Regions from separate parts of the Homo sapiens genome. Here all the other regions are linked to region 4. Evidence: promoter capture Hi-C in human tissues and cell types (Jung and others, 2019). All regions are on one chromosome and are shown on one strand. The core of a region is centred on a gene start or on the middle of the fragment in contact, and the rest is flanking DNA. Distances in the headings are between cores, read along the strand shown. Region 1 has its middle 150 kb from the start of RFC3. Region 2 has its middle 190 kb from the start of RFC3. Region 3 has its middle 130 kb from the start of RFC3. Region 4 holds the start of PDS5B (PDS5 cohesin associated factor B). Region 5 overlaps LOC102723406 (a long non-coding RNA gene).

The links. The method cuts DNA at HindIII sites, captures the fragments that hold promoters and counts their contacts. A contact is called where the count stands out against the background at its distance.
Region 1: a fragment that was not itself captured here is called in contact with the fragment with the promoter of PDS5B in region 4 in 1 of the 25 tissues and cell types used here (heart left ventricle).
Region 2: a fragment that was not itself captured here is called in contact with the fragment with the promoter of PDS5B in region 4 in 1 of the 25 tissues and cell types used here (dorsolateral prefrontal cortex).
Region 3: a fragment that was not itself captured here is called in contact with the fragment with the promoter of PDS5B in region 4 in 1 of the 25 tissues and cell types used here (lymphoblastoid cells).
Region 5: a fragment that was not itself captured here is called in contact with the fragment with the promoter of PDS5B in region 4 in 1 of the 25 tissues and cell types used here (dorsolateral prefrontal cortex).

Annotation. Positions count from the first base shown.
Region 1 is chr13:33,667,985-33,670,684 of GRCh38, forward strand. It overlaps a transcript of STARD13 not described here. Among named protein-coding and RNA genes, the nearest start is that of RFC3, 150 kb to the right of the region's middle. The HindIII fragment of the contact is 5,783 bases long and covers 1-2,700 here.
Region 2 is chr13:33,626,679-33,629,378 of GRCh38, forward strand. It overlaps a transcript of STARD13 not described here. Among named protein-coding and RNA genes, the nearest start is that of RFC3, 190 kb to the right of the region's middle. The HindIII fragment of the contact is 4,338 bases long and covers 1-2,700 here.
Region 3 is chr13:33,687,233-33,689,932 of GRCh38, forward strand. No RefSeq gene overlaps it. Among named protein-coding and RNA genes, the nearest start is that of RFC3, 130 kb to the right of the region's middle. The HindIII fragment of the contact is 3,562 bases long and covers 1-2,700 here.
Region 4 is chr13:32,585,169-32,587,868 of GRCh38, forward strand. It overlaps PDS5B (PDS5 cohesin associated factor B), which reads left to right and starts at 1,284. Exons shown (of 35, transcript NM_015032.4): 1 at 1,284-1,425. PDS5B-DT (PDS5B divergent transcript) reads right to left here and starts at 1,277. Exons shown (of 3, transcript XR_001749808.1): 1 at 1,209-1,277; 2 at 636-754; 3 at 1-401. RefSeq lists silencers at 969-1,338, 1,349-1,428, 1,849-2,098 and an enhancer at 2,329-2,388. The HindIII fragment of the contact is 11,896 bases long and covers 1-2,700 here.
Region 5 is chr13:33,606,035-33,608,734 of GRCh38, forward strand. LOC102723406 (a long non-coding RNA gene) reads left to right here. Exons shown (of 6, transcript XR_007063750.1): 4 at 704-842. It also overlaps a transcript of STARD13 not described here. Among named protein-coding and RNA genes, the nearest start is that of RFC3, 210 kb to the right of the region's middle. The HindIII fragment of the contact is 5,256 bases long and covers 1-2,700 here.

The sequences.
Region 1 (2,700 bases), core at 107-2,606, 1.1 Mb after region 4:
AGGAGACACTGAGCTATAAACAATCCGGTTGTTTCTGTCCTTCACTTCCATTTTCTTTACATCACTTTCCTTTTTCTGTCCATAGATTTTCTTCCACCATGTGGCTGCGCTGGAGTCTCTGAGCCTACTCTCGTTCAAGAGGCTGCCCAATTCGGGGATCATTCATTGCTCAATGAAACTGTTCTAAATTTAATTCGGCTGAAGTTTTTCTTTTATCAGTTGTTGAACTGAAACACTTTGCACCTACCTAATTGTTTCAAATATCTATTAAAAAATGGCAAATATCTGTTCAAAAATGGACCTCTAGGAAAAATCGAACTGCTAAAACCAAGTCCTAGGTCTTTTATTAGACATGCAAACTTGAATATTTGAATAAATGAAATGATGATGTCTTAGTTTCACTTCACCAGCAACCTGGTGGTGGGCATTGTGGGAGAGTATGGGTGAGGGTGGCTATGAGTTGACAATTGGTCAAACTGGATTGCTAGGACAGGGGGGCTTATGATAGTATTCACTTAAAATTCCAAGAAAAGAAGAGTTTCTGCCTGTATAGTAGTGACAGAACAGGAATAGGACTGTGCTCCCATGTGCCCAAGAGGTAGTCTCTATGCCCAAGGTAGTAGATTACAGATGGAGACTAAAGAGAACGTGTTTCCTGGAACCCTGAGTGAGAAGATGAGTGAAAGATGATGCTCACCGCTAGTTCTTCACCTTCCTTCTGAAGGCCCTATTTTGTTAAAGCTGACTGGGTCCTACCTTTTGTTACAGGGATGGTTGGCTAGTCCTCATAATTGCATCTAGCCCTGAAGATCACATGCTATTTTACATTGGTGTTTGCTCAGCTTCAGGGAGTGAAGAAAGCTGGCATAGAGGCTAACTAAAAACAGCAAAAATAGCAATTAAAATTTTCATTGAATGGTCCAGCTGTGCTAAGTAGTTTACCACATATTGTTTTATTTAATTGTCTTAACAACCCTGACAGGTAATACTAATATTACCTCTACTTTTACCCATGGGAAAATGGACAGAGAAAAGTTAAATGCATTTCCCAAAACTGGCAAGTGGCAGGTCCTGGATCACAATGTAAACTTGTGCTCTAAGTCACAGCCATGTATTGCCTTATTTTCTGTTGCACCAAGTTAAGAGCAATGGAAAGCACATCCTACTGAGAATGGCTTGCAGAATAGGACTAAAGACTCAGCCTTCAGCCTATAATCCGCAGAAGCAGATGGGTGTAAAGGAACACAGACACAGGAAATGACCCTCATAGAAACAAATAAAAAAGGAATGCAGAAACCTCTACTAAGTAGATAAATGTAGTTCTGTCCAGGACAGACAGAAGAGGCCGGCTTCTCTGATTTTCATCCCCTCCTGAGTCTTTAAACCTTATCAGAGTATGCTCATGCTTTCTCCAGCCTCTCATGCCTGGGTTCACTGGTGTGTGGCACACCATCGCCAGTGGTCCTTTGGGACTTCCACCGCTTGCTCACCTCCATCTGGAATCTTACCCATGCTCACTAACTGCTATGATAAGAAGAGGATGTTCTTTTTTTTTTTTTTTTTTTTTTTGAGACAGAATCTCACTCTGTCACCCAGACTGGAGTGCAGTGGTGTGATCTCAGCTCACTGCAACCTCTGCCGCCTGGGTTCAAGCAATTCTCCTGCCTCAGCCTCCCGAGTAGCTGGGATTACAGGCACCTGCCACCGCACCCGGCTAACTTTTGTATTTTTAATAGAGACTGGGTTTCATCATTTTGGCTAGGCTGATCTTGAACTCCTGACCTCGTGATCCACCCACTTTGGCCTCCCAAAGTGCTGGGATTACAGGCGTGAGCCACCACACCCGGCCAGAAGAGGATGTTCTTCTTATCCTACTCTTGTATGTCCCTTAAGAGCCCTATCTGTCCAAATGTACTTTGTTACAAAATCTAATCATTATTCTTTACACTTGTGCAGATTTGAAGATTGTTCCTGCCCTGGTAGGCCAACTACTACCACCTTCTCCATATTTACCCACAAATGCCTGAGTAACATTTAAATAAATAGAACTTTTGGAGTGGGAAGTGTTGGAATCACCTTCTGGATTGGCTGATCATTTGGGCTGCAGGATCCTGAGGGTAGCTCAAGGATTACATATGTATTCACAAGCAAGGAAAGCCACAGGGGGATGAGACTACGATACAGGCTGTGACTTGCACAGGGCTTGGCATATAGTATGCCAAGTATCTTATATTCTTCCTCTGTGTTTCTAATAATGTCACCAAATATCACATTGAACTTCAGTGGGACATTTTGAAAATCCTTCATGGTATCATTGCAGACAAGATTAAGAATATGGGCAGCGCTAATGCAACTAGGCAGATTAATAACTCATTGAACGAACATAATTGGAGAATGTCACCAAAGATCGCGTTGCATTTTTTTGTCTATAACATATGGAATTTACTATCAACTAAAATCCTAAAGTCTTATTTCACAAGTACAAATTCTTCCAATGAGGGCTTGTGCACTTATGATTATGAACCAAAATAAATAATCTTATATTTGTCACAGTTACTTAGGTCTAGGTAGCTTGAGCTCATTATTCCAACCTGTTAAGATCTGTTTTTGTTTTGATGCTGTCGTCACATAAGTGCATTCTTCCTTTTGGCGTTATATTCAGAAATTTACTAAACGTGCATTTATCCAAGACACTGATAG
Region 2 (2,700 bases), core at 146-2,645, 1.0 Mb after region 4:
AGAAACATGTCATCCACTCCCCTTCCTCATCTTTGCAAGTGGTGCTATATGCCAGCAGGCTGAGCATTGTCATTACTGTAAGAAAGAGTATGAATTAATCCAGCACACATCCCAAATTCAGAATAACAAATCTGGAATGTGGAGGCCCACCTGTCTGTGGGTCCATGTTGAGAAGTCTACACTTTTGATTACATGTTTGCCTATTTGTAAATGACAAGATTTGTCCTGCACTAGCAAAAAAATAAAATAAAATAAAAATTCTGGCCATCAGGACTAAAGAATCCATAAAACTTAGAATAGTATAGTTACAAAATTGGTTCTGATAAAGGGAAATAGAATAAACCTGCTTCAAACTTCATCAATCATTGTTCCCTTTATCATTTTCAGATCATTAAACCAGCTTTTAATCACAAACACTAATATTTTATTGTATATTTTCTGCTTAAATCTAGACAGTGTTAGCTTGGCATTGACTTTCCCAAGTAGCAGAATTAGTGATATTTTGAATGATATAAAGGGTATTTATCTATTCTTTCATTAGCAAACATTATGTAAGTAGTTACTATGTGTGTAGCATAGTGCTGTATTGTAAGGTAACTGTCTTCAACATCCAGGTAGGATTAGTTTCTCCACTTGTAGATAGGTACATCTATGCTATAACATATGTATTATGTCCTTGGCTGGGTATGGTGGCTCACGTCTGTAATCCCAGCACTTCGGGAGGCTGAGGTGGGTGGATCACGAGGTCAGGAGTTCAAGACCAGCCTGGCCAAGATGGTGAAACCCCGTCTCTACTAAAAATACAAAAATTGGCCGAGTGCGGTGGCGGGCACCTGTAAGTCCAGCTACTCAGGAGGCTGAGCCAGGAGAATCACTCGAACCTGGGAGGTGGAGGTTGCAGTGAGCTGAGACCGTGTCACTGCATTCTAGCCTGGGTGACAGAGCAAGACTCCATCTCAAAAAAAAAAAAAAAATGTTCTTTTCTGCCTCAAGATAGGTTGAGATTGTCCTTCATGGCCCTGGACATGGTCCAAAAGGTGGAGAGGCCTCAGTGGTCCTTTCTGAATGTGAGCACCCAAGCCTGCCCATTGGCCTAGCCCTTAATTTATGTACATGTGTCATTTATGGCCCATCCTCCAGGGCTGCACCGTGGGGCTCCTGCCTTTTCTGACGTACAGCAACCACAATAGTGAGATGAACATCGAAGCTATTGGAGAAAGTCCCACCACTATAGTGTAAATCAGCCTAGATTTACTTTGCGTAATTTTAGGCTATTTCTTTTTTTTCTTTCTTTTTTTTTTTTTTGAGACGGAGTCTCGCTCTGTTGCCAGGCTGGAGTGCAGTGGCACGATCTCGACTCACTGCAACCTAATTTTAGGCTATTTCTAAGACAGTCATCTTTTGGTTGAACAAGGTAATGAGTTGGGATAAATATATCTTTTTTCATTCCTGGACTCTCTCTCTTGTAAAACACACACACACACACACACACACACACACACACACACACACACCACATGCATCATGGACACATATACTTCTAATGTTTTTCTTTTATTTATCCCAGAAATTGAACTAGGGATGCCCCTGTCTCTATTCTTTCTGCTCTGTACCTGGTACTAATTAATTTATTCATTAGTATTAATAACAAGCCTGGTCACTTTTCATCCAGTCATGTTTGTTCCCTCCACATCAGAAAGAACTCTTGTGACCAACATCAAAATTCAAGTTCAGGTATGTGTACGAGTCAGAATGGGTCCTTCTTTTTCTCAGAATTACATTGTAAGGAACCTATTCTAATAGGCATTAAAGTAACTAGCTTTGGCTTCACTCAGCAGGAATCTCACATAATCAGAATTGAATGTGACAAAACTCAATCCATTCTGTATAAACAAGAGACACCTTAGAGAAATCAAATCTCTTTGAAGGACTGAAGTAGGAAGGCTAAGAAGAAGGTACACCTGATACACTCTTTCTTTCACTCTAACAGGCACCTGAACCTCCGTGGCACAGCAGATGGGAATGACTGACGTGGCTGAGCATTCATCTGCCCCAGGGAGGCACCGCATTGTAGGGGATGAACAGAGACTTTTCAATCAGATAGACCTGCATTCAAATCCCAGATCAGTCTCCTACTGCCTTTTGATCTTAGGAAAGTTGCATCACTCTTCACCAGAGTTCCAACCCTGAGTTTCATTCTCTGTCAACTGGAAATGGAAATAGCTATGATGGTAGCGAGGGTTACATGAGATGCTATTTGCTCAGTGCCAATGATCAATAGCAGATGGCAGTTATGTGATTACGATTACTGTGGGATCTTTTCAAAAGAGGGTCGCCAGCAGCTTCTTAGCTATGTTGAGCTTGATTGTCTGTGAAGGCAGAGGCCTGGGTGGTAGCTGCATAAAGAGACAGCTCTACTTCTTGTATGTCTTGGGTTGTAGGCCAGGTCCCCAGTTCAACTCCTCCTCTACATGAGGCTACCCCAACTCCACGGGCCAAACGCCATAGGAAAGCAGATATTACATTTAGAAGTCCTGATTTCACTTTTAACTATACTTCATTGGTAAGACAACAATAATGTCAGCTCATTAGCAAATCAACAAATAACACTTTAACTGGAAATTACTGGACACTATTACTTAGACTGTCCTGGAAGAGGGCTCTAAAGTGTGTCTCCATTTAAACTTATAAGAAAATTGC
Region 3 (2,700 bases), core at 124-2,623, 1.1 Mb after region 4:
GAGAGCTGTTGTGCGGGTTAAATGACACAATGTATTATCTACCTGGCTCACAATTGCATTAAGAAATACTGGTTTCAAGGTGCATGCAAGACATTCAGGTAGATGTCTTAAATTGTAGCAGCAGCAGTAGCAGCCATAGCCACTAACATTCCTGAGCACATCTGATATGCCCAGTGCTATTCCAAGTGTTTTCCATGCATTTAACACACACATTCCTCGAAATAACCTCAAGCACTATCAGCCTCACCATTTTACTGATGAGGACACTGAGGCCCATAGACAGGCTAAGTCACTTGTACAAGTCACACAGTCTGCAAGTTGATGGATGGAGTTTTGAACCCAGACAGTATGACTGCAGGGCCCTCCACTTAGCCACACTGTTGTGTTGAGAAGAGTAGGGATGGGATCTGAGGCTGGGAATCTAGGAGCTGCTAAATTGCAGAGCCATGGGATACATTTTTTCAAGGAGTGGGTATAGAGATAAGACAAGATTGCCAAGTGCGGGTCTTAGGACATCTGACCAGCAAAGTTGGGGGCTAAGAAGACAAAGCAAGAGTGCTCCAAGATGGAAGGGATACAGGGGGGCACCAAGGAGGGTGCAGGATGGGAAAGGAATTTGGAAGCCTGTCCACCCTCCTCCTATGGGACCCAGTCTTCAGGGCAAGGAGAAATAATATTCGCCACTTAGAACTTTTACCATGGATGTTAAGCTAGTAGAACTAAGTGTAACTACAACTAAACCTATAGCTGAAACATGAAAACATCGCTGACATTTCCAATGAACATCTCTCCTCAGTAAAGGCTGAGATCCTTTCTCTCAAGAGAGCTCTCAAGGTTATTTGCAGCTAGGAGAGATATAGTTGTTTCTAAAAAGTTTAATCTTCCCTATTAAAGTCCAAGACACACCAGACACAGAAAAGCCAGATTGCTCACTCCTTTATCTCTCCAGAGTGATGACCCTGAAAAAGCTCCCTCTGAAGATGCCATGAGCTGCACTGGAAGTTGAACACTTGGAGTGTCTTCTTGAAATTGACCCGATAATCTTATAGATCAGGGGTTGGTGGCCTGTTAGGACCCAGGCCACAAAGGAGGTGGAGAGCTGTGGGTGGGCAAGTGTTACCACCTGAAATCCACCTCCTGTCAGATCAGCAGCAGCATTAGATTCTCATACAAGTGCAAATCCTACTGTGAAATGCGCATACGAGGGATCTAGGTTGTGTGCTCCTTTTGAGAATCTAATGCCTGAGGATCTGAGGTTGAACAGTTTCATCCTGAAACCATCCACCCCACAAACCCCCCACTCCACCCCTGGACCATGGAAAAATTGTTTTCCATGAAACTAGTCCCTGGCACCAAAAAGGTTGGGGACCATTGCCATAGATAGGTTTGTTTTTGTTCGTTTGTTTGATAAACATACAATATTTAATTGCAAATTGACCCCTAGTCTTAAAGCTTGAAACTTACATTTGTTTCATCTGAGTTCCTACCTCAGGAAACAACCTTCAGGTCTCTCAGAAAAAGTGCCAAAGAACTAAAACTCACCAGGTCAGGCCTCTCAAGTCTGACCCCTCATTTATCATTGTTGCTTCCTTGCCCCTCCTATTTTCTTACACATTGTTACATCCTTTCCTTTCTATATAAATCCCTAGTTTTAGTCCGTCAGGGGAGATGGATTTGAGACTGAGCTCCCATCTCCATGGCTGCAGCACCCGATTAAAGCCTTCGTCCTTGGATTTTACAAATCTAGATGTATCTGTATGGCTTTCTCTGATCAAATTCTACCTGTTGCCATGTTTGATAACAGTGCTTATAAATCTTGTATAGTTCAAGAAACTTTAATTGTAGAATCCCTAGATCAAAGAGGTTCACTCTTGCTATTTTGATTTTCAGTATTTCTAGAACCCTGTCAGAGTTTCTTGTATTGTTCTGAACAGTATTTAATTGCAAACAATTTGAAGAAATTCCTTTTAAAGTCTAAGAAAGATATATTTGTCATGTGTAGAGAGAGTGTGTCCTTTTTTGCACTGGCTGTTTCAAAAATCTGAATAAGAGATGGTTTAGTTGAAACTGTTTATTGTTAAGATAACAATCTGATGATTCCAAAATGAAGTCAACAGTGGAATAGTGTTTGTTTTCATGATCAGAAACTCAGTCTGTGTGGAGATGTAGATGTTATAGTTTACTCTGAAGGTTTTTAAAATTACTTTTGATTTTTCTTCTGGAAGTTTTGCAGAGGCCTTCTGGCCCAGAGTGAAGGTTCTGACTATAACATTTTAGGGCCTGGAAAGATTGCAGTTGCTGTCCTTGTGGATGCAAAGTAACGTTGTTCCCTGCTCAGAGGGATTTGAAAGATTATTAAAAATTCAACAGATTTTTCTGAAATCCCTTGTATTTCCCTCGCACATTTTGAAGGCTTTCCTTTCAGAGAGAACCAATTCACCTGACTTCATAAGAAAAAGAATCCTATCCCTGATCTGATACATTATTGCCATCCTGGTATTTTCTGCCATATTATTGTTTCCTTGGAGGCCTCAAGGTACAGACATGAAGGTGTGGATTTGGGTGCAAAAAACGGTTAAAGCCACTCATTAAACATGACACCTTCCAGCTAAGAGAAGAAAAAAAATCCAGTTACACACACACTCAGGTTTGCTTATTTTCTAGGAAAAAAAAATTCCTGTCCTCAGTGGCTCAGGAAGT
Region 4 (2,700 bases), core at 34-2,533:
GAACAACGATGTAAAATAAGAAAATTCCTGAGATAATTTTAAAAAGAGGGCAGAAAAAACTCATAGTAGACTTCATCGAGGAATGTATAAAATGGGTAGAACCTGGAGTATTCAGTGGCAAAATCTTGGACACAGGAATACAGTAACACAACATATTGGTCTAGCAAGCACTGGAGGAGACTGAGGCGGAATTGTCCAGCGAATCCCACAAAAATGGAAATGAAGAGGTCTCAGTATCTCTAGGTGCCCGGGTCCGATGGAATACCGATGTACATACCTTTTCTAACACAGTAGCATTAGTTTATATATCAGCATTACCTCTCTTTTGTTTCAGTTGATAAGTATCCTACTGTAATCCATTCATTCACACTTTGCTTGTTCATTGTTGAAACAAATTCTCCCTGGAACAAAATTCTAGTAACCAAATACATCATATCAGGGGAAACTTCCTTACAGCAGGGATGGTATTAAAGTAAAAAGAGGAGGAAGTCCCTTCTTCAGCTCTGGCAGGGACCCGGCTGGGGAGGAAACCTTCCCGCAAGGTAGGTGATCTGCTGTGGTGACCAGGCTAAACCCACTCTACAGCTGCAGGAGGGACTGGCATCCCTTAGAGGTGAAGAGGGGAGGAGACCCACCTCCTGGAATGTGTCCCTGTGGTCTCCAGATGATTTCTTCCTCTAATAAGGACAATTCTGCCAAAGGAATGGAATGCTTCGTCACAGGCTCAATTACTCTGTCTCCGCCAGCCTACCACCTATAAACAATTCCTCAAATTAGGAAAGCGGGGAGATTTAATAAAGACATAACACGTAAAGTGTAGGAAAACTATTTGTATGGCATTCCGAGACGACTAGGTCAGAGTTAACAAGTAAGGAGCAAAGTAGTTAATAATACCAATTCTGTTTACCCATCACAACACCTGTGCTGAATGTCAGGGTTTAAAAAAATCTCCCAACCTTTATCTAAAAAGATAGGGCTACGTAACAATCGGTGTGGTTTTTGTCGGTAGAGGTCTAGGAAGCCGCAAGAGTAGTGGACGCCTTGACAGCTGCCCTTCTCGCGGGCCCCGCGGCGGCGTGCCCGTGTGGTTGCGTGCGCGCGGACGGGGCGGGGCTGAGGAGGGACGTGCGCGCGCGCGGACGGGGCGGGGTGGAGCTCGGAGGGCGGACGCGCTCGGGGCCGTCTGGTCGGCAGGGGGCGCTGCGCACCCATGCCGCGCTCTGCCTGCCCCCGGGTGCTGTCCGCGGCGGTTCGATTGGAGCAGCCGCCGAAGAGCGCTTGGCGCCATTTTGAAGCGGAGAGGAGGAGGAACGGCAGGGCTGGCTGCGGAAGGGGAGGGGGGGGGAGAAGGCGATTGGATGCGGCGGCGGCGGCGGATCCCGGAGAGCCCCGGAGTGAGCGGAGTAGCGAGTCGGCAACCCGGAGGTAGGAAACAATTCAGTTAACGGAAAGAAAATGTCTCTCTTCTCTGGCTGCGGCGCTCCATTTTTCAGCGGCCGCCACTGCCGCTGTGTGCGTGTGTGTGGCAGGGCTGAAGCGCCGCCCGCCTGGGTGCCAGGCGCGACTCGCCTCCCGGCATCGGGGGCTGCAGCGGGTGGCTGCCTGGCGGTGGCCCGGGGCGGGGGTCGCGGGGCGCGGGCCGGCTGCGCGGTGGGGGTGGGGAGGGCCCCGCGGCCGGCGCGCGCCTCCACGCCGCGGGTTCTGCCGCAGCCTCTGGAAAATTAAACTTGCCGCTCTGATCCCGGCCGGGGCGGCGGCGGCGGCGGGCGGTGACCTTGCGCGCGGGCGGGGGTCTCGGGGCCGCCCGGCCGCCCGCGCCCTCCCGCCGCCGCCGTCGCCGCCGCCGCGCCCCTCCCCCCGCGCCCCGGCCGGCCGGCGGCTGTTTCCCGGGCGGCAGGCGGGCGGCGCGGTGCTCCTGTTGAATCCTCCCGCGGGCGGGCTTCTCCCCCTTCCGGGCGAGGGGCGGGCGGGGACCGCGGGTCGGGGCCGCGGGCGCTCTCGCCCCCGCCGCCGGGTCCCCGCGCGCCGCCTGGCCTCCGCTTCGGGCCAGGGGACGGGCTGAGCGTGACATTTTTGCACTGTCCCTCGCCGCTCGCCGGAGGGAAATCGCGCTCACCGCGCCACCCCGAGTGGTCCCCGAGCAGCCAGTTGAGGAAGAGCCCAGCACTGGCGTGGAGGGACTCCTCCCAGGCCACAACTGGGTTCTAGCTTTCCTTTCAGAAGGAACGGCGGGGAAAATGGTGTGCAATTGTGACTCGTTATTGTTTTTACACTGTTATTTTAATGTTACTTTAAAAGTTTTCGGTCCGGAGAAAAACCTTGTTTGTTGTTGTTGCTGCTACTGCTGTTGGTTTTTGGTAGAGACGTGAAAGCTAACTCTTAAGTAGCTCGACAGTTATTTTGGACGAATGACTGAAACCAGAAACGCCGCCCCTCGCCTTCGGAGCTGCAGGCTGCTGCGTTCCTTGCCGCGGACGGGGCGAGCTCCGGGAAGGGTTGGTAGAGCAGCTACCCACCCACTCCACGCGCGTCTTCAACAGCCTCTCTCCCCCAGCGAGGGTTAACCCTTTTTTATGTCGAAGAAAGTGCTTCTCGTACTTTTAATAAGAGGTGATGGATGGGCAGTGGTGCCCAGACTGATCCTACCCTGTTGATGAAATAGTTTCGAAAACTTTGGGTATAGCCTTAATTTAGAGGGTT
Region 5 (2,700 bases), core at 157-2,656, 1.0 Mb after region 4:
CGTGCTTGTAATCCCAGCACTTTGGGAAGCCTAGGTGGGTGGATCAACTGAGGTCATGAGTTCAAAACCAGCCTGGCCAACATGGTGAAACCCCATCTCTACTAAAAATAACAAAAATTAGCTGGGTGTAGTGGCAGGTATCTGTAATCCTAGCTACTCAGGAGGCTGAGACAGGAGAACTGCTTGGACTCCGGAGGTGGAGGTTGCAGTGAGCCAAGATCGCACCATTGCACTCCAGCCTGGGCAACAAGAGCAAAACTCCATCTCAAAAAGAAAAAAAGAAAAAATGCAATAATAATACCTATATATAAGGTTATTGTAAGAAAGAAAAGGGTTAATATGTGTAAAACATGTAGAATATTTCTCAGGATATTATAAGTTCTTAAAATATTAGCTTTATTTTCACTATCGCATTAATTTCTGCTTTTCCTTTAATGATTTTTCTTCCATTTTTTGCATTTACTCTGCTATTAATCTAACTTCTTGGGTTGTATACTTTATTATCTGAAATTTTTTTCAGTATGGGCATTTTAAGGCTGTCTACTTTCTATAATTACTGCCTTAACAGAATCTCAAAAGCTTTGATATGTAACATTATTATTTTATGTAGTTTTTAATTTCCACTGGTGTATTAGTTTTCTTTTGCTGCTGTAAAGAAATTACCACAAATGTAGTGGCTTAAAATAACACAAATGTCTTATAGTTCTACAGATCAAAAGTCTAACACTGGTGTTATTGGGCTGAAATCCAGGCGATGGCAGAGCTGCGCTCCTTTCTGGAGGCTCCGGGGAGAATTCTCTTCCTTAACCTTTCAAGCTTCTCGAGGCCCTCTGCACTCCCTGGTATGCTGCATCTTTCAGACCGCTTCTTCTGCCTCTCTCCCAGGCACTTTAGGACCCTTTCATTTACACTGGGTGCACCTGGATAATCCGGGTTAATCTCTTTGTTTAAGGTCAGCTCATTAGCAGCCTTAATTCATCTGCTACCTTCATTCCTTTTGTCACGTGACCTAGCATTTCACAGTTCCCAGGGATTACAAAGTGGATACTTGGGGGACAGTTTTGTTTTTTTTTTTTTGCCTACCGCAACTGATTTATACATTTTTAAGTGTCCCAATATATGTGAAATTTTTGGTTGATTTTGATTTTTAATTTTAAAGCACTGAAGTTACACAATGCACTAATAATAAAAATAATAACAAAAATAAAACAAAAACATGGTGTTTAAGATTACGAGTGAGTTAGTTTGTCAGCTATCATTGTTTCTTTTTTTTTTTTTTTTGAGACAGAACCTCGCTCTATCACCCAGGCTGGAGTGCAGTGGCGCAATCTCAGCTCACTGCAACCTCCGCCTCCTGGGTTCAAATGATTCTCCTGCCTCAGCCTCCAAGTATCTGGGACTACAGGTGCGTGCCACCACACCTGGCTAATTTTTTGTATTTTTAGTAGAGATGAGGTTTCACTGTCTTAGCCAGGATGGTCTGGATCTCCTGACCTGGTGATCCGCCTGCCTCAGCCTCCCAAAGTGCTGGGATTACAGGTGTGAGCCACCACGCCTGGCCCATTGTTTCTTTTCTGATGGTGCAAATTGGAGGCAGGAGAGGTTAAAAAGTTAAACTGATTAGAAAGGAAGAAAAAAAATTCATTCTTGATATTATCGTCCACACAGTTAATCCTAGAATTTATGCAAACTATTAGAACAAATAAAAAATGTTGGATTGTATTTAGATACAAGATATAATATAAAATATTATTTGCATTACAATAACTAAGCAACAAATAATCAGATGACATAATTTTGAAAGACACAATTTATGTTAATAATAAAATCTAAAAGCTGCCCAGAAAAAAAAGTAATGAAAATGTCCAATATCTCTAAAGAAACCGTTTTTTAGAGATAGAGTCTCACTTTGTTACCCAGGCTGGAGTACAATGGCACAATCCTAGCCTTTGGCAGCCTCAAACTCCTGGGCTCAAGCGATCCTCCCACCTCAGGCTTTGGAATAGCTGGGACTACAGGCATGTGCCACCATGCCCTTTTTTTCTTATTTTTTGTAGAGATGGGGTCTCACTATGTTGCTCAGACTGGTCTGGAACTCCAGGCCTCAAGTTATCTTTCTGCCTTGGCCTCCCAAAGTACTGGGATTACAGGTGCAAGCCACTGTGCCCAGCCCATGAAAACATTTTTAAAAGACATGCAAGAAGAACTTATTGAGAGATGCATTGCTTTCACAATGGAAAGACTAAATATCATAAAGATGTCCATTCTCCCAAAATTACTTAATACATTTAATATAATTGCACTCATAGTCTCAATAGGCATTTTTAGGGATCTGGACAAGCTGATTCTGAAATATTATGAAAGAGTAAATGGCCAACAAGTGCCAAGAAAATCTAGAAGAAAGAAAAATAGGAAGAGGGAAAAATAGGGGAAAAATCCATAAGACTTTATAAAATTTAGTAATTTTAAAAGTATAGAACTGATTCAGAGATAGAAAAGTAAATCAATGAGCAAACATAGAAATCAGCACACAAAATAGGGAAACAATATGACAGGTAGTATCATAATTCAGTGGTGATAAGGTAGACTCTTCAACAGATAGTGTAGAACAGTTCATTACATACATGAAAAAGTTAAATCCCTATTTCATGATATACAAATTCACATTCCCAGATTCAGGCTTAAAGATTGAAATTAAAA